4 separate regions of the Homo sapiens genome follow, and regions 2, 3 and 4 are each linked to region 1. The links are contacts of gene promoters, found by promoter capture Hi-C in blood cells and fetal thymus (Javierre and others, 2016). All regions are on one chromosome and are shown on one strand. The core of a region is centred on a gene start or on the middle of the fragment in contact, and the rest is flanking DNA. Distances in the headings are between cores, read along the strand shown. Region 1 holds the start of TAS2R13 (taste 2 receptor member 13). Region 2 holds the start of LOC440084 (a long non-coding RNA gene). Region 3 overlaps LOC440084 (a long non-coding RNA gene). Region 4 has its middle 31 kb from the start of PRB2.

What was found. The method cuts DNA at HindIII sites, captures the fragments that hold promoters and counts their contacts. A CHiCAGO score of 5 or more calls a contact.
Region 2: a fragment that was not itself captured here is called in contact with the fragment with the promoter of TAS2R13 in region 1 in 6 of 17 cell types (erythroblasts, naive CD4 T cells, M1 macrophages and 3 more); the score reaches 6.7 in erythroblasts.
Region 3: a contact is called between a fragment that was not itself captured here and the fragment with the promoter of TAS2R13 in region 1, in 2 of 17 cell types (activated CD4 T cells and total B cells). The highest score is 6.4, in activated CD4 T cells.
Region 4: a fragment that was not itself captured here is called in contact with the fragment with the promoter of TAS2R13 in region 1 in 1 of 17 cell types (activated CD4 T cells); the score reaches 6.2 in activated CD4 T cells.

The regions. Positions count from the first base shown.
Region 1 is chr12:10,907,591-10,912,889 of GRCh38, forward strand. It overlaps TAS2R13 (taste 2 receptor member 13), which reads right to left and starts at 1,972. Exons shown (of 1, transcript NM_023920.2): 1 at 336-1,972. The coding sequence starts at 1,708. The coding sequence ends at 797. The region is part of intron 4 of PRH1-PRR4 (PRH1-PRR4 readthrough); the gene reads right to left. It also overlaps a transcript of PRH1 not described here. The HindIII fragment of the contact is 14,745 bases long and covers 1-2,160 here.
Region 2 is chr12:11,482,023-11,487,321 of GRCh38, forward strand. LOC440084 (a long non-coding RNA gene) reads right to left here and starts at 4,656. Exons shown (of 5, transcript NR_148969.1): 1 at 4,542-4,656; 2 at 4,027-4,129. The HindIII fragment of the contact is 4,165 bases long and covers 892-5,056 here.
Region 3 is chr12:11,440,330-11,445,628 of GRCh38, forward strand. The region is part of intron 2 of LOC440084 (a long non-coding RNA gene); the gene reads right to left. Among named protein-coding and RNA genes, the nearest start is that of PRB2, 47 kb to the left of the region's middle. The HindIII fragment of the contact is 2,736 bases long and covers 1,856-4,591 here.
Region 4 is chr12:11,423,466-11,428,764 of GRCh38, forward strand. No RefSeq gene overlaps it. Among named protein-coding and RNA genes, the nearest start is that of PRB2, 31 kb to the left of the region's middle. The HindIII fragment of the contact is 1,896 bases long and covers 1,677-3,572 here.

The DNA of each region.
Region 1 (5,299 bases), core at 722-3,221:
TCAAAAACTCTCTTATTGTTACCAAAAGCAGATAAGTAGTTGCTTGGGAAAAAGGGCTGGAGGGGAGAGGGTAAACTGCAAAGGGCACTGACATTGTGGTCACACAAGTGTATACATTGTCAAAACTCTAACTGAAATGTGGACTAACATGTTGCATTTTATTATATGTAAATTATACCTCAATAATATTTACTTTAAAAGGCATAATGTAAAATATGTATGTACACATACATACAATATAATTACTAAAAAACCGTTATCTTTTTATGTGGCAGTTACTCATATTAAACTTTTTAACCCTCTCAATTCTCTCAACACATCAGTATAGTAATAGTGGCAAGTCCAAACTTCCCTAATTCTATTCCAAATAACTGTTCTAATTATCTGTAGCTCACCATTTAAATAGGAGTACTTGAGATAATAAAATAATTACCTAAATCACCCATCTCAATGAATGATTTAGAATTGAAGAGCCATTGCCAAACAAAAGATTGTAGATTTACAATTAACATCTAAGTATGCTGTAGTATATGTTTTTAATTTACAATAGAATCTGCCAATAATTTCCTCAAATAAGTTTCAAATTCCTAATAATGTAGAAATACATGTCATAAATACATAATATTCTTAGGTAAGATGCTATTATAGAGAAGAATTTAAAACATTTACAGTGACCTTCACAATAAAAGAAACCAGGGGAAGCATAAAATATCTTTTAAACTCCTTGTAGACTCCTGTTTCTGTCTGCAATATTCAATAATCTGTGGTCTGAATGGCTTATGAAATTGTGAGTTTCTCATCGTTTAGCCCATACCTTAGCTGCCACCAAAAGAAAGGCCTGTCTTAACTTAGCGTTTCCTAGAATCAGAAGAAAGGAGTGGCTTGAAGGAGAGAAGACTCCAATCGTCTCACAAAGCATGTAGATCACTGTGTTCTGATACAGCTCAGAAATCCATGATATGAGAACACATAGAAAGAAACTAGCATAGAATAAAAGGAATGAGATCACAATTTTCAAGGCATTTGTATGGACCTTGGTCCTGGGGTCTCTGTGTCCTTTGTAATTGAGTTGCATTTTCTGGAGATGTTTCTGCAGGGAGAAAATTAACAGGAGAAAAGAGATGAAGGCCACAGTAAATGGTGTTAGACTGAACATAGTCATAGTGAATTTGACCGACACTGAAAATGTTTCAAAGTCACTCATACTGAAATTCCAAGTTGTGTTTCTTTCATATCGGTCCAGCCAGTCTTTTATATGCATGTTTATTTGTATCAGATTTAAAAATAAGAAGACCAAGGTTCCTAGCAGTATCATCAGAATCACTTTGTTTACTCTCCACTTCAAATAGAGAAAAGCAGGGCTAGAGAAACTCGCTATTTTGAGCAAATAAAAGATGCTGAAGATTGTAGCAAGCCAGAGATTGAAGTGATTAGAAACTATCCAGCTAAAAATCATAATTCTTAATCCTGTTCCAGACACAAATATGGCTAGATAATGCAGAGCTAAAAACCAACTTACTAATATTTCCCAGATCAGCCCAATTCTGGAGATTGCCAAGATAATGAGGAGTTTATCGACTGAGGACAGCTCTCTTTTACTGACCCAGTCAATGCAGTTGATCAGTACTATAAATCCATTGCTCAAATTCCCAATTATGAATTCTGCAATTATTACAAGAGTGAAGATACTCGGCAGGGCACTTTCCATGTCAGAACAGAGAAAGTTCAATGTCTAATGTCACTGCTGGTTATTCACTGATCTAAAATGCTATTCACATCCTTGAGTGTCCAGTGGAGTTCTTCTTCCTTCTCCTTTTTCTGCTCCTTCTTTCATTGTTGGCTCAACGTCAAAGCAGAAATCTCTAAAGTTTGCTGATCGATCTTCACATAACTGTTCTGGTGATATCTTTATTTTTCTTCAATTTCTCTGCTGAGCCCTAGCTAAGATATTTATGTCTTCACCATGGGCAGAAATATTTCATAGATGATTATGCAGCAAAGTTAAACTCACATTTGCAACCATGCAAATAAAGATATATTCTCTTTCATTGTTTTGTACTTTTTTGCCTTGTCTGAGCATAGAAAATTAGATTCAACCAGCTTGAGTTCTGAGGTACAAATATTATAAAAATCTGATTCATAGAATATGTAGCTAAATGAAGCTTTTATGGCTAATAGCATAGCCAATGAAGCTTTATAAAATATGCAAAGACTTACCTATGCTATTTCAAAAGAGTGCTCAATTTCTTGTGGAGCTAAAGCTGGATCTGGTCAATACTGTGACTAAAGAGAAACTCGTTTACAAAGCATCCATCTTTCTCATTCCCTGCCTCATCACTACTTAGCAGTGCTCACCACCATCCCTCCATAGGCACCAAATGCCTTCACATTTTATCCGCTTTTCCCCTCATATTTCTTTTTTAAACTTAAAAGTGATAAAAAAACAAATTTTACAAAATCAGCAACAGCTACCAAAGAAAGCAGTACTATATTACATCATAACTTGCAAAACTGAAAACCAAGCAAAGAAATAGATACACTAGTTCCCCTTATCCATGAGGCCTATGTCCCAAGACCCCCAGTGGATGCCTAAAACAGCAGATAGTACCAAACTCTATATACAATATATTTTTTTCCTGTATTCACCTACCTATGATAAAGTTTAATTTGTAAATCAAGCACAGTAAAAGATTACAAAAATAACTAATAATAAAATAGAACAATTAAAACAATATACTATAATAAAAGTTGCCAGGGGTTGTGGCTCATCCCTGTAATCCTAGCAATTTGGGAGATTGAGGCGGGAGGACCGCTCGAGCCCAAAAGTTTGAGACCGGCCTGGGCAACATAGGGAGACCCTGTATCTAAAATAAATAAAAATTAAAAAAATAAAAAGTAAAAAAATGTGTTAAAATATATAGTGTGGTGTCTCTCACTCTCTCAAGATACCTTACTGTACTGTACACACCTATTTTTGGACTGTGGTTGACCTTGGGTCACTGAAACTGCAGATAAGCGGGGACTAATGTGTTCATTGTGAAGAGTCAAGGTTCCTCACCCCGCCCCACTCTTTCAAAAACTACCGAAAAAAAGTGGATTACCAAAATTCTGAAAACGTGGAGACTCAAGAAAGATTGTCTAATTCAAAATTAATATAAATAAAACACTTTATCTTGATTATAAGATAATAAGTAGCCATTTAGCTAGATGAATACAAAGCTATTTTTATTTAATAAAGATATAATTTGTGAATTATGAATGTTTGTATTTTATTACTCATGCAATCTTTATTGGGTGATCTACAGAGTACTAAAAAATTTACAAAATAATTGCATCATCTTTAATGATTTGCAAGTTTCAATTATAACTTAAAATAGGTAGATATTTTCTATTTTGTTGTTATAATGGTATATTTGTCAAGATAGAATAGAAAATGTCTCCTTTAACAGTTTGTTAGGTTTGTATATTTATGACCTTTAAATATGTAGCTATGTGGCATGTGGTCTTCCATTTGCATTCTTGACCCAGGGCTGAAGAGATCTTTTATACTTTTTCATTTTAGGGTGTTCTTCCTACCTATCTAGAGAAAAGGGTTTGGGGATGCCGGTCACAACTTGATAATACCCCAAATCTGTACAAATAGGCCTGAGGAATGGTACTGTACTTGCTGGTATATGAAAAAATACCACAGTTTTTAGAACTTGTGATATAACACATGACAAAGACATAGAGAATGGATAACAGGCTTGCGGTTCTGAGCTGCATTTTCCTGGTGTGTTTCCATAAGAGAAAACATTTAAAAATATAAATTTAATCAAAGAGATGTAGTCTCTCACTTCTATAAGAGAAAGAGAATAGATGCTAGGGAGCATCACAGAAAAACTTTTTCAGCAGTCTGAACTGAAAAGGAAAATGAGGCAAAGGGCAGGAAGAGGAAACAATGAAAGGTTTGAGTATGTAAAGTATTTTTTAAGTCACTGATGGATGCAGTTTGCCAACGTTGTGTTAGGATATTTGCAGCTATGTTTTTAAGGAATATTGACATTTAATTTTCATTTCTCATATTGTGCCTATGAGAATTTGGTATTAAGATTTAGCTAACCTCATATCATTTGTTTAGAAATATTTCTTTTCTCTTTTTCATTTTTGCTGCCTATTATTGTTACATATAACAAATATAGAACATTTAATGAAGTTTAAATGCTATAGTATAAAGTGCACACTAATTTAAAAGCCTCCCATGGCAAGAAAGAGAACTTTGTAAACCCCATAACACCTTATTTGCTCCTTTCTAATCACAACCCCTATCTTCATTCCAGAAGTAACAACTATCTGCAATTCAAATCACGTTATTGTTTAACTTTGTATATTTTAATTTGAATATGTATCCCTAAGCACTAGCTTGGTTTTGCCTGGTTTTGGATTGCACATGAATGGAATAATACTGTACACAATATTTTTGAATTTAACTATTTTTGATCAATATTATGTTTCTAAAATTAATCATGTTGCATATAGAGATAGATCATTTATTCAATTGCTGTATAGTATTAATGGAATGACAATTCAAAATTTATCTAGTCTAGTGGAAACACAAAGTTGGTTTATTTTGAGTTTGGAGACTATGATGATGATGATGCTACGAACATTCTTTAACATGTAACTTATTATTGAGTACATGAGCATACATTTCTATGATCTTGATCTGGAACCATTCCGTTGCCTATTTCTTCTGGTCTTGTTTTGGCAGTTACGACTTTCTAGATATTTGTCAGTTTCAATTATTTATGTTTTCATGTAATTTTGATTATAATATCATCTTATTAAATTTTTAATACCAACAGAATATATCCTTTAAATTCTTCATATTATTTGCTTTTCTTTTCATGATTTATCTTACCAGAAGTTTGCCTATTTTGTTAGTCTATTCAAGTCTGTCTTGGTCGATCTTTTCAGATGTATTATTTTTCATTAATTTCATCTCTTATATTGTTATTTAATTATTTTTACTTCCGTTGAGTATGTTTGCTGTTATATTCCTGGCATACGTTTTCCTCTTAGAATTTTTCAGCATTTCTCACAAGGTTTTACTATATTTTATTATACTTAATTTTAAATATTTTCTAAATTTATTGTGATTTTTCTTCCACCATAGACTATTTTTAAAATATATGTTCGAGTTTCCATTTACATAAAATTTTCTCTGCTAAAATTTATGTTATGCATATATGGTCAATTTTGATAAATGTTTTGTGTTTGCTGAAAATAATGTGTATCCTGTAGCTTTGGGGTGCAGTGT
Region 2 (5,299 bases), core at 1,724-4,223, 580 kb after region 1:
TAAATGTAAAACTGGGGCAGATTCTGAAGGCATTAAGTGTCATGCCACACACAAACTATTAACAATAAATTATCAACCTTTTAAAAGAGAAGACCAAAATGATCATATTTGCATTTTACAAAGATAAATATTGTGACAGAGCAAATGTTCATTTGGGAAGAGGAGAAGAGGAGAAGACTACTCAATCTAGTTATTAAAATGAGAGCATTCACAGAGGAACACAGAGGTGAGAAGGGTGTGTTGTCAGCTGATTGTCCCTGGGTCTCTTTCAGCACCATCTTCTACTTTCCCGAATCACCTGCACAGTTCATGGCTGCTCTAGAGCTACCAACCCAATGGGTCTAGAAGCAGTCAACTGTTTCCTGGGGCAATAGATAGACCCTTGTGGGGGCCAGGCATAGCGCCTTACACCTGTAATCCCAGTGCTTTGGGAGGCCAAGAAAGGAGGATCGTTTGAGGCCAGGAGTTCCAGACCAGCCTGGGCAATATAGTGAGACACCCATCTCTACAAAGAAGTTTTAAAAAATAGATCCTTGAAAAAACCTGGGGCTGAACCTGTTTGGCATATTCCACATAAACTTTTTCTTTTTTCTTTTTTTTTTTTTTGAGACAGGGTCTTGCTCTGTTGCCCAGGTTGGAGTATAGTGGTTCAATCATGGTTCACTGCAATCTCAAACTCCTGGGCTCAATCGATCCTCCCACCTCAGCTTCCTGAGTAGCTGGGATTACAGGCATGCTCCATCATGCCTGACTAATTTTTGTATATTTAGTAGAGACAGGGTTTTGCCATGTTGCCCAGGCTAGTCTTGAACTTCTGGGTTCAAGAGATCCTCCCACCTCAGCCTCCCAAAATGCTGGGATTACAGTCGTGAGCCACAACGTCCAGCCAGAAGCTTCGAACTATAATATGTTGCTGTATCTAATCCACTTCTTAGATGAAGAAATTTAGCCCCAGAGAAGTTTAGTAACTCACCCAAGGTCAAACAACTTATCACTGGCTGAGTCAGGACTCAAATCTATCCCAAGACCGGAGGTTTCATGTTTCATGCAACAAAATGAAAACACAATAAGAACAAAACAAACCAAGAACCAAAACTCAGACTCTCTGTTTCTTGGGTCAGTTGTTTTTCTATGACTGAGTCACATCCAAGTGTGGATATTTTTAGGAAAAGCTCTAATAATTTCAGAGCTCTTACAATAGACTAGGCAGAGCAGCAAGCTCTGAAACACCCTAAATAAACATAGTTACTCCTCTGGGTGTTTTACTAAACTGGACAGTTCGGCCAGGGCTCTCCTTTGTACTTTCTGCATCACATGAGAAGAGGTTGAAGAATCTGTAGGAGTGCCTTAGTGTAGGCACAAAGCTAATCATGGTGGGGGAAACAAGCTCTTTAAGCAGCAATAGCAAAAAGCAGTGGGTCAGGTGGTTTTTTAGAGAGGCTGACATGAAAGGAAATTCAACAGAAGATAAGTGCACTTTCTGAGTTACTACTTTAGATGAAATACATGTAACCTGTCTGATGCAGAGTTAGGTAGGTAGCTAATGTGGGGTGTGATATAAGATAACCCAGACCCAAACCACATACCTACCATACCTCCAAAGCTGTCATTTACCGCCATAAGAAACAGTATTTGGGAGTGGTAAGTCATCGTCTCTAGAAACTCTTGCCTCTCCCTTCTATTCCTATTAAAGTGACTTAATAGGTGATGCATTATTTCATTCATTAATATCCTCCGTTGTGCTGCTTGGTAATACGTGCTATGGCAGCATGAGGGTTTAGGAGAAATGACTACAAAACAAATGTGGTTTACAGATGTTTTATTACAGACTCTCTTTTAATCCCCCAATCAGTTCTTTTATATAGATAATATTTTCCCCACTTAGGATGAGAAAACTGAGGCTCAGAGAGGTTAAGGGGATAGGCCCACGTTACATAGCCGGACAGAAGCAGAGCTGGGATTTTCCCTGTTGTTGTTGTTGCCTGTTGCTAGACACGGCCTTGCTCTGTCACCCAGGCTGGAATACAGTGGTGTGATCTTGGCTCACTGCAACTCATGCGACCCTCCCCGCTCAGCTTTCTGTGTAGCTGGGACTACAGGTACCCACCACCACACCCAGCTAATTTTTGTGTTTTTTGTAGAGATGAGGTTTCACCATGTTCTTGGGCTCAAGCCATTCACCCACCTCAGCTTTCCAAAGCACTGGGCTTACAGGCATAAGCCACCACTCCTAGCCTAGAGCTGGGATTTTAATCCATGCCTTCTGAAGGCAAATACTTATTCTTTTCATCACATCTGTTTGGTATATCAGCAGAAATCATTAAGACAAATGGGACTCACCACTGAAAAAAGGTACAAATATAACACATAAGAAAGTGTGGTATAAATAACAGATCCAAATTTAAAATATATATATTTAGAAAACCTTTATATCAACCAGCTTTCTAGATATTACTGAATATACTATGCTTGTGGATTTAAAATGTATCTAGGAAATACAAGCCCACGTCCTCACAGGTGCCTCCTAGGAAAAACCGGCAGGTTTGTGTTTGTTTTGTTTTTAATGATCTAAAAGAATTCAGCAGATAAATGTTTCCCCATATACCTGAAAAACCCACTCATCCTCTTAAGGCAGGTCACAAAACTGAAGAATTTTTAAACAAAGCAGAAATTTTAATCCAAATCTTTCTCCTATTCTGTTGGTGATAAACCGACTAAAAACAAAAGAACAAAACCACTGTTCTTTAAAGTTTAAACTTTCATCTGCACTCATTCTTTTTTTTTTTTTTTTAGACAGAGTCTCGCTCTGTCACCCAGGCTGGAGTGCAGTGGCGTGATCTCGGCTCACTGCAACCTCCACCTCTCAGGTTCAAGCGATTCTCGTAACTCAGCCTCCCGAGTAGCTGGATTACAGGCGCTCACCACTACGCCAAGCTAATTTTTTGTATTTTTAATAGAAAAGGGGTTTCTATTAAAAATGTTGACCAGGCTGGTCTCGAACTCCTGACCTTGTGATTCACCCACCTCGGCCTCCCAAAGTGCTGGGATTACAGGCAAGAGCCGCCGCGCCCAGCCTGCACTCATTCTTTAGAAGAATAATGCCCAAGACCACAGCCTGCAATGTGCACACAGTCACCTGGGCATCTTGTGAAAATGCGGATTCTGATTCTACGGGACTGAGGTGGGGCCTGAGACCCTGCATTTTAAACCAACCCCACACTCTGAGTAGCAAAGCCCTAAAATACTTTTGTTTGTTTAGGTTGACATATATTGTCAAATGCCGGCTTCTCTCAAACACCAGTGAAAGAACCTTTTCATAAGGCAAAGTTGAGTTTATTGCTCACCGCCATAGGGAGATGGCTACTGTGAACTGCTGGTCCCCAACCTTTTTTGGCACCAGGGACAGCTTCCATGGGACAATTTTTCTCCGGATGGGGTGGTCAGGTGGGGATAGTTTGGGGATGAAACTGTTCCACTTCAGATCATCAGACATTAGATTCTCATAAGGAGCACACAACCTAGATCCCTCACATGCACAGTTCACAATAGGGTTCGCACTGCTATGAGAATCTAAAGCTGCTGCTGATCTGACAGGAGGCGGAGTTCAGTCAGTAATGCTCACTTGCCTGCTTCCCACCTCCCGCTATGCAGCCTGGTTCCTAACAGGATACCTTTAGGTAAAGTTATTGCAGGGGTAGGAGACCCCTGCGGTAAACCAAAAATAGAATTTGAAGGCCCCTGGCAACGATCTGAATGGACTAACTCTTTGGCCAGGGCATGTAAAATTTAACCTGAAAGACTGGCTCAGGCCGTGACGGGAAGTGAGGGTTGGACATGCCTCATTAACATTAACACAGACCTTAAGTCTGATAAGAAATACTTACAATCTATTTTTCTTTAAAGCCTGCTACCTGGAGGCTTCATCTTCATGATAAAACCGTGGTCTCTACAACCCCTCCTGGTAACCCAGACATTCCTTTCGTAACTCTTTCAACCAATTCCCAATCAGAATATGTTTAAACCTACCTATGACCCGGAAGCTCCTCTTCTCTCCTCACCCTTCGAATTGTCCCACCCTTCCAGACCGAACCATGTAAATCTTCCGCATATTGATTGATGTCTCATTCTCCTAAAATTTATAAAAGCAAGCTGTACCCCAACCACCTTGGACACATGCTGTCAGGACCTCCTGAGGCACGTCCTTAACCTTGGCAAAAAAAAAAACTTTCTAAGTTGACTGAGACCTGTCTCAGATATTTTGGGTTCACACTATCTAGATTCTTAGTAGTGTCTCAAAGCCAGGTGCCAAAGTTGGGATATTTATAACATTGAAGGTGGGTCTTTCAAGGTGGGGGCATGAGGTTGATCAGAATTTGGTAAAGATCGTGATGTGGTAATTAAGGATCAGTAAATGCCATGGATTTTGAAGAGTCCTGAGGAGTAAAAGGTTGTTCAGCGCTATCAGCGGGAAAGTTGAACAGTCTGGTTTTCTCAAGGGTTGTTTTCTGGGGAATTTCCTGAAACAAAAAACAGTTACTTGCAATTTTTATCTTTCTGGACGAGAGTTTCCTGGAATAGCTGACTTTTGTTGAAGACAGTGAATAGTACAGTCATTGACAGTAAGCTGTCTGGGTGTCCATGCTTTCCGGTTTTAATACAAATCTGCACTCACATAAAATAGTGATTGCGCATCCGTTGTGACGTGGCGCTTTGGTGTCAGACAGCACCACCTGCTGGCTCATGAGGGTTAAAAACGTTTAGAACTGCAAAAGTTACTTTTAACAGCAGGGCTCTGCTGCCACCTATCGGTTTATTTTTAAACTTTTCAAATGTTTTTCTTTTATTTAATACAGGTCTACTATACTAAGCACCAATCATTCAAAAAAAAACAGGTGCTATAAGTAGAAATGTAGCGCAATATTGTGGAGGCGGACATGAAGGCAGGTGAGGTCCTGGTGAGGTGGTAGAAAGATGATTAAGGACAGGATACAGTGTACAGCCCAAAGGACAGAGTTGTCTATCTACTACGGATGACCAGTGTGGGGGCAGTTAGGGAAGCTTTACAGAGGTAAGGAACCCTAAGGTGTCTCTTGAATAAGAATTGACAAGTAGATATGAGAAGGAGGAGTTAGGAATTCCAGGCAGAAATACAGGCAATGTGAAGATATTGTGCTAGCTGGGTGATTTAGCGTGGCTGAACCACGAGGTGTAGCAACAGGTCCCAAGAGAGACATAGGAGGCCAGATCATGGAAGGCTTCATATGCCTGACTAAGGAGGTTATCCTGGAGGCAATGACTG
Region 3 (5,299 bases), core at 1,974-4,473, 530 kb after region 1:
AAAAAGAATTATAACTCTTCAGATTTGGCCGAAAGCCTTGCCTGGTAGTCAATGAACAAGGAAGAAAACACACTGTGGTACACCATGAAGAGATTTCAGTGGATTTAATTGAAGTTTTAGGACCAATGTGTTCTCTTGGACTTAGCACACATCCTCATGGGCAATTCTGAGACTGATTCCCGTCTTTGTCTCTTAGATATTTTAAGCTCTAGGTTAGACTCTTTTAAACCATGGTGGAGGGACAGCAGGGGGAGCAGGATTTTGATCAGCTGATAGATAAGAAATGCAAAAATTATAACAATGAGATATCACCTCACACCTATTGGGATGGCCACTATCAAAACAACAGAAAATAACAAGTGTTAGCAAGGATGTGGAGAAATTAGAGTCCCTGTACACAGCTTTGGGAATGTAAACTGGAGCAGCCTTTATGGAAAACAATATAGAGGTTTCTTGAAAAATTAAACATAGAGTTACCAAATAATCCATCAATCCCTCTTCTGGACAAATATTCAAAATCAGGATTGTTTTTTTGAAACAGGGTCTCACTCTGTCATCCAGGCTGGAGTGCAGTGGTGCGATCTAGGCTCACTGCAGCCTCTGCCTCCCTGGTTCAAGCGATTCTCACACCTCAGCCTCCTGAGTAGTTGGGATTACAAGTGTTTGCCGCAATGCCTGGCTAGTTTTTGTATTTTTAGTTGAGGTGGGGTTTCACTATGTTGGCCAGGCTGCTCTCAAACTCCTGGTCTCAAGTGATCCACCTGCCTTGGACTCCCAAAGTGCTGGGATTACAGGTATGAGCCACTGCACCAAGAAGAAATCAGGATGTTGAAAAGATCCTTACATATCTTTGTTTATTGCAGCATTATTCACAATAGCCAAGAGGTAGAGCAACTCGGATGTTCATCTATGGATGAATGAAGTTAAAAATGTGGTACACACATATGACGGAATATTATTCAGCCTTTAAAAAGGAATGAATCCTTTCCTATGCTATGAACAAGGTCATACAGATGAACAAACATGGTTACATGGATAAACTTTGAGAACATTATGCTAGATGGAAGAAGCCAGTCACAAAAAGACCAAGACTGCATGAGTCCACTTATGTGAGGTATCTAAAGTAGTCAAACTCACAAAAATGGAAAGTAGAAAGGTGGGTGTCAAGGGCTGGGGGAAGGAGACATTATTGTTCAATGGGTGTAGACTTTTAGTTTTGCAAGATGAAAAATTTCTAGAGATCTCTATTTGTTGCACAACAATGTGAATATACTTAACACAACTGAACTATACACTTAAAAGAAGTTAAGTGGTAAATTTAAGGGTATGGATTTTTTACTACAATAAAAACATTTTTAGCAGTTATAACAAGTAATAATGACTAAATGGCAATTACTATGTCCCAGGCACTATTGTAAATATTTTACAAATTCTGAGTACTTTACAAATATGTACTCATTTTAACCCTCACAATAATCCTAAACAGCATATAAAGTATTATAACAGCATCAATTTACTAATGAAGAAACTGAGGCGCAAGGAAATTAGGTCACTTGCCCAGTTACAGAGCAAGTAAGAGGTAGAGGCAGGAATAAATACAGGCAGCATGGCTTGGAGTAGAGCCCCATTTTTTTTCTCTATTCAGGCTTATCTCTACCCATCTTCTGGTGTTAAGAATAATGACTCTGCTAGTTTGGAATTAATCCCTTTCTTATGTCTCTGCCTCAAATATACTAAAAGTTTTAAGGGCAGGGGCCAAAGCCATACAACTTCATGACATTATGTTATCCAACCAGATGCCTTGGCCATAATCATTGAACCAAATTAACTCACATGTTTTAAAAACAGACATTGAAGCTTAACAGAATTGCATCAAAGTAAGATTTGAACCAGGAGTTTCATCCATTCTCCTAATGACCCATTTCTAAACAACTGCTTCTTCCTTATCACTGAATTGGGATAGGGACCATGGTGAGAGGTAGAAGATGGTGAATCAAAGAAACTTCAGTTTTTCTTATCGCATTTTGAGTCACATAAGGAAATGTCAGAAAAGAGTTTATGTATCTTTTGCTGACCTCTCCAAAAGGTTTAATAGAAATGCACTATGGAATTTTATCCACCACTATTTTCCTTACAAATGAGCCTCTTCTTTAACCACTCCAACACTCACCTTGGTGAAGCTGAATGCAGGTTTAAGGATGGAAAAAGGAAGCTAGGGAAGAGCTCATTATTAGATCTGATAACCCCCCAGGACAATCCTACACAAAAACATCACAAAATCTTTTGTATACAAAATCTATTTTCTCTCTCGATCACTAGAATTTCCTCCAAGCAGTATTGTCTTCTACCCTCTCTTAAAACTAGTGTAGTAAGAGACTCTTTCTTAAGAACGTATCATTGGTTTCTTAGGAAGAGTCTGAAATGGTGGCTCTTCTGAGTAGTGTTACAGTCCCCCTAAGTGGCTTGTCCCCTACTCATTCCAAGAAAATCACTGCCATTACCATCACCGAAACAATTCTGTTAAACCAATATTTAATTGAGCGAATATTAAGTGAGACAAAACGTACTGAGGATACAGAGTTGAATGGACCCTGCCTCCAAGAATCACACAATCTATTTGGGGGGAGTGGAAAGGTTAGACAACATAATCTGTGAGGAAATCAAATGTTAGCATCAGCTCTAACATTTGAGCAGACTTGCTGGTTACCCCCAGGGGTTGCCAGACACTAGCAACACGAAGACAAGTTAGTTACTGCCTCTAACGCCAAATGTATTGCTGGCTTACAGAAGTTCAGGGGAACTTTCATAAAGAATGTGGTATTTCAATTGGCCCTTAAAAATGGGTAAGATTTCATCAGGGTAAAACAGGCAGGGTTATCAGGAAGAAGGAACAGTCATGTAAATACACATAGAGGTAGACATAGGAGAGTGGAGAACACATCCAGGAATGGCAATTAGTCTAATATGTCTTAAGAGGATATTGCAGAGATGATGGAAAGTTGAGGCCATATTATGAAAAGCCGACTTGGAAATAGAAGGCCGAAGAGAATTGCCTCATTGATACATAATAGCCTATTGGTGAAGATTTTTTAGCAGATTGAGCCAAATCAAATTATATTGTAGGAAGACAGATAGTGAACAAGAATTTAAAGCAGAGAAGAGGGGCATCACAATAGCACAGGCAAGGCACTGAGTAGCAAGATTACAGTAATGAAAGCAAGCACTATGATCAGCAATTTATATTTAATGTATGATACGGAGAGTCAGGGTCCAGGGAAAAGAAAAGATAACTCCACCTTGTGAAGCCTGAATTATTCCAGTGATGTATTGCAGTGAAGCAAAGCAGGAGTCAGTTTCTGAGTGGTATTGTGAGGAACAGGATGTTGGTGAGGAGATTTGCAGAAGGGGTAGGCAAGATGAGTTTGGCTACTGGCAATTAAGTTACCTTAAGAGAACCTTGTTGGAAATACCCCACAGGTGGCAAAAAAAAAAGAAGATGAAACTGAGATCCAGGGAATTTTGATTAACAATCATGGTTTTGCTTTATGCATAGAGATGTATGAGCCATTTGCTTAAAACTGCTGTCACCAAAATGGTGCACGTGATTCCAAGGGAAATGTAGAAAGACAGGAGGTGCAGGCCTTACCTGAACCAGACAAAATTCCAGTCTAGTGAAATTCTTATGGGTATAGAGGAAAAGTCAGCAAAGGAAACAAGTTAGAGAAAGAAGAAAGTCAAGCCAGGCTCCTTGGCACCCGCCTATAATCCCAGCTACTTGGGAGGCCACGACAGGAGGATAACTAGAGCCCAGGAGTTCAAGTCCAGCCTGAGCAACATAGTGAGACCCCATCTCTAAACACATATATATTTAATATATGTTTCATTACCTATTTAGACTTCTGTTTTCTCTCACTAAAGTAAGCAATTTTTAGGAAGGAACCAAGAGTCGTTCTTGTTAGCATCCCAGGTTTTTGGTTGTCCCATTCCCTCTTCTCTCTCAGAGTAACAGAATCCCTAATGTTTAGCTGGGCATATGGTTCCCCAATATGAAGATGCATTTCCCAGCCTCCAGGCAATATGAGCAGAACTAATATGTGTAACCTCTAAGTTTTGTCCCTAGAGGGAAGAGGCATACCCTTCACTTCCACTTTCCTCCTTTTCTGCCTTATGAGATGTGGGTGTGGTAGTGTGTCACCTTGAACCATTTGCATAAGGGCAACACCATAGGGATGGCAGAGAATATATAACGAAAGGATTCACAGAACAAAGCCATCATAACAAATAAGAGAAATAAACCTCTATCCTGTCCAAGACACTGTTAGTATAGTGTTAGTATAGTGTTAGTGAGCTACACTGTTAGTATATCCTGAGTAGCGCAAACTAATCTGCATAGATTAATCCCAGAACCTAGCATAGCTTCCATTAGTTGCTTCATAAAGAAGGAAGGAGAGGAGGGAAACGATGTCTAAAGCCTCTATCAGTAAGGAGACATTTTAGATTATGGCAAGGCTATAGGAATCCAAGAAAGAGATTTTTCTTTAGTTGAATCAACCCACAGGTTTGACCTCTTGCATTTCTTTGCACCAAGTCAAGCTTGCTATGATGAAAATCTCCAGTCTGATCTTTCTTCACTTTGCCATTAATTGAATGAAAGGCTTTGTTATTATAAGTCCAGTCTTAAATGAGGCAAGAACTTCCCTCTTTGATTTGTGGCCTTTTGTTCTGAGATGCAGGAGATTTATGAATGTTTCACGGGGCTTTCAAATCCAAATTTATTCTTATGCCATTTCTGAGAGATAGACAGAATGCATATCAATATCATTCTATAAATAATCTCCCAAGACATTGCCACCTCCATAAGTAGGTAGTTAAATATTGAATGTTAAATAAAATGGAAACCCAAAGTAGTAAGTGACTTGCCCAAGGTTAGCACATCAAGAGATAGAACGAAGGCCTTCAGAATTCTTTCTACATCTCAACAGGCAAAAGATAAAATTCTAACAATTTAAAGATATTAATTGGCTTATTTGCAATTCTAGAATCAGACAACACTTTATTCCACAAAATAGAATAAGTGTTCTAATAAGCCAAGCAGAGGAGTGTGGTTTTATAGACAGAAAATGGCTAAATAAAGCAGAAAGAAAGAAAAAAAAGCGATTGGTGATTTCAAAGTTGTTTTCCTTTTAATGAAGGAACCAAGAAATAGAACAATAGAGAAATAACTGATTGTATAATATCAGGTTGCTTTTTCCTTTTTCTTTTTGGTAAGGATTAAAACAGAGAACACTTTATTACCCTG
Region 4 (5,299 bases), core at 1,375-3,874, 520 kb after region 1:
TCACATGCTTGTGTGGTTCCCACCTTAATATATCAGGATTGGTCTGTGTGACCCATAGAATATGAGGAAAGTGTTAGTATATATTAATACCCCTGAGATCATGTTATAAAAGAAACTGTGGCTTCATTTTTTTTTTTTTTTTGGCAACTTCACTCTGTCTGTCTCTTTGTCTCACTGTCTTGATCTCTCTCTTTCTCTCTTTCCCTTTCTCACATCTTTTACTTTGGGAAAGACCAGCAGCCATGTCCAATAGCTTTATGGAGAGGCCATCCTTTCCAAGTGAATCTCTAGGCGTCTCCTTCATTTGACTTCACAGTGAAGCAAGCACCTAGAGGGGATGAGAAGGAAAAGTTTCCCACCCTCAATCTCTCAGTCCCCACTTGATCTCTATAACAATTTCACTCTGCCCAAATTGTGTCTAATGTGGACACAGTGGGGTGAATGATAGGGATGCATTGGCTTCCTTCTAGTAGGCCCTGCTAGGAAGTGAGGTGTCAGTTTCAAGTACTGATGACTTTTTGGTTGTGATTTCATTTTTAGAATGAGGAAATATTATTTGCCTTTTGTTCACCAATATCATCACTACCCTGTACCTATTAATTACGCTTATATTTCCTTCCTTACAAAACCTTTTGTTTTTCCTGGAGTTAATAATTACCTCCTTTTTCTCACTTATTTGGTTTTCTTTAAACATCTAAGTCTTCCTGACACTTCCAACGGACTTGTAAAATCCCTCTTCATACAATTTTCCTCACTGACACTTCTCAGATAATTTGCCTTTGTCCTGGAAATTTTATTTTCTTCTCTCAAATAGGGTGATGCATATCCTGAGTTAATGCCTCCCTCTTTCTCAGCCTTCTTCTTTGGTGAAACCCATTCTTCCATAGCTTGTTGCAAATGAGCCACATGAGAGGGGAAACATTTCAAGATCATTCATGTCTAAGAATGTGCTTAGTCTGGCCTCACACTTGACTGATAATCTGGCCAAATATAGGACACTAGGTTGAAAATGACTTTTGCTCAGAATCTTTCTGACACCATCTTCTAACTTTTACCCTTCCATTTTCACTCTAATTCTCAATCCTTAGTGTAAAACTGTTTTTTTCCTCCACTGGAATCTTGAGGATCATCCTTTTATCCCTAAAATTTAATTAGATTTAAGTTGATATGGATCTCTTTCCATTTATTGTGCTGGGCACTCAGTATTCTATTCCGGGTGTTGCAGGGGCTGTGCTGGGCCCTACATTTTAGATTGGTCTCCACACACCCCAAAACCAAACGCATGGTTTAATTCCTTTCACTCTCCTTGGAAAATATTTTAAAAGTCCAGCAAATAAATAAAAAACAGGAATTGTGGGAGAGGGGCACAGGCAGAACTGTGGTCCTCAAGTCCTGAGGATGCAGAATTGAGAAGGTACAATGAGAATAAATTCACAGCTTCTGCTCTGGGACACCAGAGAAAAAAATGAATGCTTTTGCTTAATGTTTTTCAGCTTAAAAAGACCAAAGAGCACATCTGGGCAGACAGGTTCACCCACTCTCCCTCCATAAATGCACTCTCTACTACTCCTGTGGTCAGTAATATCATTTGGGGAGCTGCTTAGAACCTCCTGGGAAACCCAAATCAGAAGTGAGGCAGGGCAGAGAGCATCGCTTGCCTAGCAGGCTCCCACAAAAGCTTGGCCAGGTCAATGCTTGGCCCCCACCCAGCTTCCACCCTGCTGCTCCAGCAGACAGCCCTACCCCTCTCCATCCTCCCACCTCCCAGCTTGCAGTCAGGGTTAATGCAGGGAAACACATGTTCCTTTAGCCTCCTGGCTAGTTGAGAAAGGCAGTTTCCAAGAGACAGACTGCAGGACTTATGTGGAACCTGACATGAATCTAGGGTCTAGACACTTTATAACTTATAGAGTAGGGGCTATAAAGTAGGTGGGGCTCCATTTGTATTCCTGCACTGGGCACTGCAAATGGTTAAGTGTGGGCCTGCGGATCAACATTGGGCCCTTTCAATATGGAGAATACACCTTAAGTTCTGGGAAATCTAGTGTTTCATTGACTATTTCTTTCCCATATAGTCTCTGTTTTCTTTGTCTAATGTTGGTTGAATTTTTTTTTCTCACCCATGGATCATCTCTTTTCATTCTATCTTATGGGAGAGTTCCTTAACTTTATCTTCTACTGCGCTTATCATCAACTGAATTTATAATTGCCAATATTTCTTTTTGTTTTCCAGTCATTCCTTTATTTAATAACATCCTATTCTTGTTTCAAAAATGCAGTGTCGGCTGGGCGCAGTGGCTCACGCCTGTAATCCCAGCTCTTTGGGAGGCCGAGGCGGGGTGGATCACGAGGTTAAGAGATCGAGACCATCCTGGCCAACATGATGAAACCCCGTCTCTACTAAAAATACAAAAATTGGCTGGGCATGGTGGCGCATGCCTGTAGTCCTAGCTACTCGGGAGGCTGAGGGAAGAGAATCGCTTGAACCCAGGAGGCGGAGGTTACAGTGAGCTGAGATTGTGCCACTGCACTCCAGCCAGGTGACAGAGCGAGACTCTGCCTCAAACAAACAAAAAAGATGTAGTGTCTATTCTTATTTCTTGAAACATATTACCATTTCTGAAAGGTTTATCCTGCTTTTTATCTTGTTTCTGTCTCCTTCCAATTCCTCTTTTTCTGTTTCTTTGAGTCTTATTTGATGGAGATTTTCTTCAAATAGCTGATGAACTTTTTTTCTATTCATACATTAGAGTTAGACGCTAAGATTATCAGAAAACTCTATGTGCATTGCAAGAATTATGTAGAATCAGGTCCTCACAGGAGGGAGGCTGGATGCCCTGGTATTTTGTGTAGACCTACAGCTGCTTTCTCTGAGAAAGTGCTGATCCTTTCGAAGAATCCTCCTGTCTCCTAACCTGCAAACATCATCCTCACTGCCAGGACCTTGAAGCTGGCCAGGATATGAGGTTGGATATCCTCCATTTATTTAACGGGCTTTCACTTGATTGGCTTGTTTTCAGAGTAGAATTTCACTCATGCCCTCTTTAGTAACGCCAAGTTGTCCCCAAGTCCATTGCCTCTCTGGTTCAGTTTTTCTAAATAAACCTACTCCCTCTTGCTGGAACAAAGGGGGATGTGAACCCCAACAGTTTCCTGCCACCTGTCTCACCATCACCTTCCCTCCTACAACATAATCCTCAGAGGTCCTGCTGTCCGCAGCCCTGCAGTCTTACAAGGGTGCTATGAGACCAATTAACATACATTTATTTGGTGCCACTTTCCAATAACAAGAACTTCACAGGTGCTTGAATACAACCCTCTTCCTTTCCACTATGCCAGGAACTATGGCTCTGCCTGTACTTAGTCTTCATATATTGTTGCTTATATTTGCCCTATAAGATTTATCAAAGATGAAATTTGCTTTCTTGTTTCCTGATATTATTGTGTGGGGATGGTCTTTGAGAAGAAAGAGTTAAGAAATGCCTTTACTACTGAAACTATGTCACCCTCAGTTATAATTTAGGAAAGCAATTTGCCAATATGCTAAGGAATCTAACAAAAAGTCTGACAGAAGCTTATAAAACAAGTCTTCTGTTTCCATCATTCCACTTAAACAGCTGACATCACGGTACCAGTGACCTCCAGCTTGCTAAAATCAATGGACTTTTTCAGTCTTCATCTTAACTTTCTCAGCAGTGATGGGCATCGTTTGTAATCTGTCTTACTTAAAATATTCTCTTCCTTTGATTCCATGATACTTATATGCATTTGTTTTACGTTGAACTCTCTGGTTGCTCCACTCATTACTTCTTTCATTTATCAAATATATATTGAGTGCCTTCTGTATGCCAGGAATTTTGCTAGGAGTTTAGAATGCAATGATGAATACAAAATCATGGTCCCCACCATTCAGGAGCTGACACCTTGTGTGTCCTTTGCAGATGCATCTGTTTCCATCTAGCTGTGAAATTATGAAATTCCTCTATTTTTTGTCTCTTGCCTCTTGTCACTATATATAATATCATCTCCCTAGAAAAAGTCATCCTTGCCAACAGCTTTAATTATTATCTATGTACCAAAGGCACAAAGTTAAATCTCTTGCCAAGACTCCTACTCTGAGCTTCACGCCTTTATCTATTTGACATCCCCATTTGAATATTTTAAAGTTGCCACTCAGTATTTCCAAAACAAAACTAGATCTGGTAATCCCAACTCTAGTGAACATTGTCCAACCATTCATGCAACATAAAATCTATAGCTTTGACTGTGTCTCATTCCACATAAAAAGTCTACCACCAGTTTCTCTCTCCTGTTCTAATTTTCTAAATATGTCTCATCTCCATCCACTTGTCTCTATCTCTACTGTCCGATATGGTAGCTGCAAGTCACATGTAGCTGCTTACATTTAATTAATTAAAATTAAAAATGTTAAAAATATAAAATATAAATAAAATATAAAATTTTACATTTAAAAGCAGCCATATCTGTGGAATAGTAGATATACAACACATGTATCATCACAGAAATTTATATTAGATAGCACTGCCTTAGACTTTAAGCTAAAATGATGGTTATAAGATACATAACTTATATAAAAGATGTCATATATATATGTAATGTGAAACCTACAGTATCAGTAAAAAAATAAATAACTGTACAAACGCACTCAAAAATACTACATATAAGCCAAAATGGAATTCAAAACAAAATATTCAAGTAACACACAGGAAGGTAGCACATAGAAAACAGAGAAAAAACACAAGATAAGCACAAAACCTAGAGTAAAATGACAGACTTATTACTCAATATATTAATAATTATGTTAAATGTAAGTGATGTAAACTAAATGCTTGAAAATTAAGAGGTTTTGGGATTACAGAAACAGACTAGCCTGTACCATTATCAAAATTTACTCAATAATTTATATTGGTATATAAACTATACAAATTTTATATTAAATATTATTAATATTTTATACAAATACTGTGTAAAACATTTGCATATCATAAAAACCCATGCAAAGCTCTCAGCTCTGTCCCTGCCTGGCACAGAGTAGCCTTCAATGAGAGCTACTATTGTGAGGACAGCCACTGGGTGGGACTCCTTGTCACTTGCTTGCTCCAGGTGTCAACTTCCCACACCAGTGCCTCAGAGTTTTGCCCCTCCTTATACCTGCACTATTCCTAAGTGGCCTCATCTAAGCCCATGGTTTCAACTATCACTTATACCAGGGTCAGCTACTTGCATGGCACAAGTGCCACAACTCTCCTGGTTAGGCACCCAAATCATTATTCCCTGG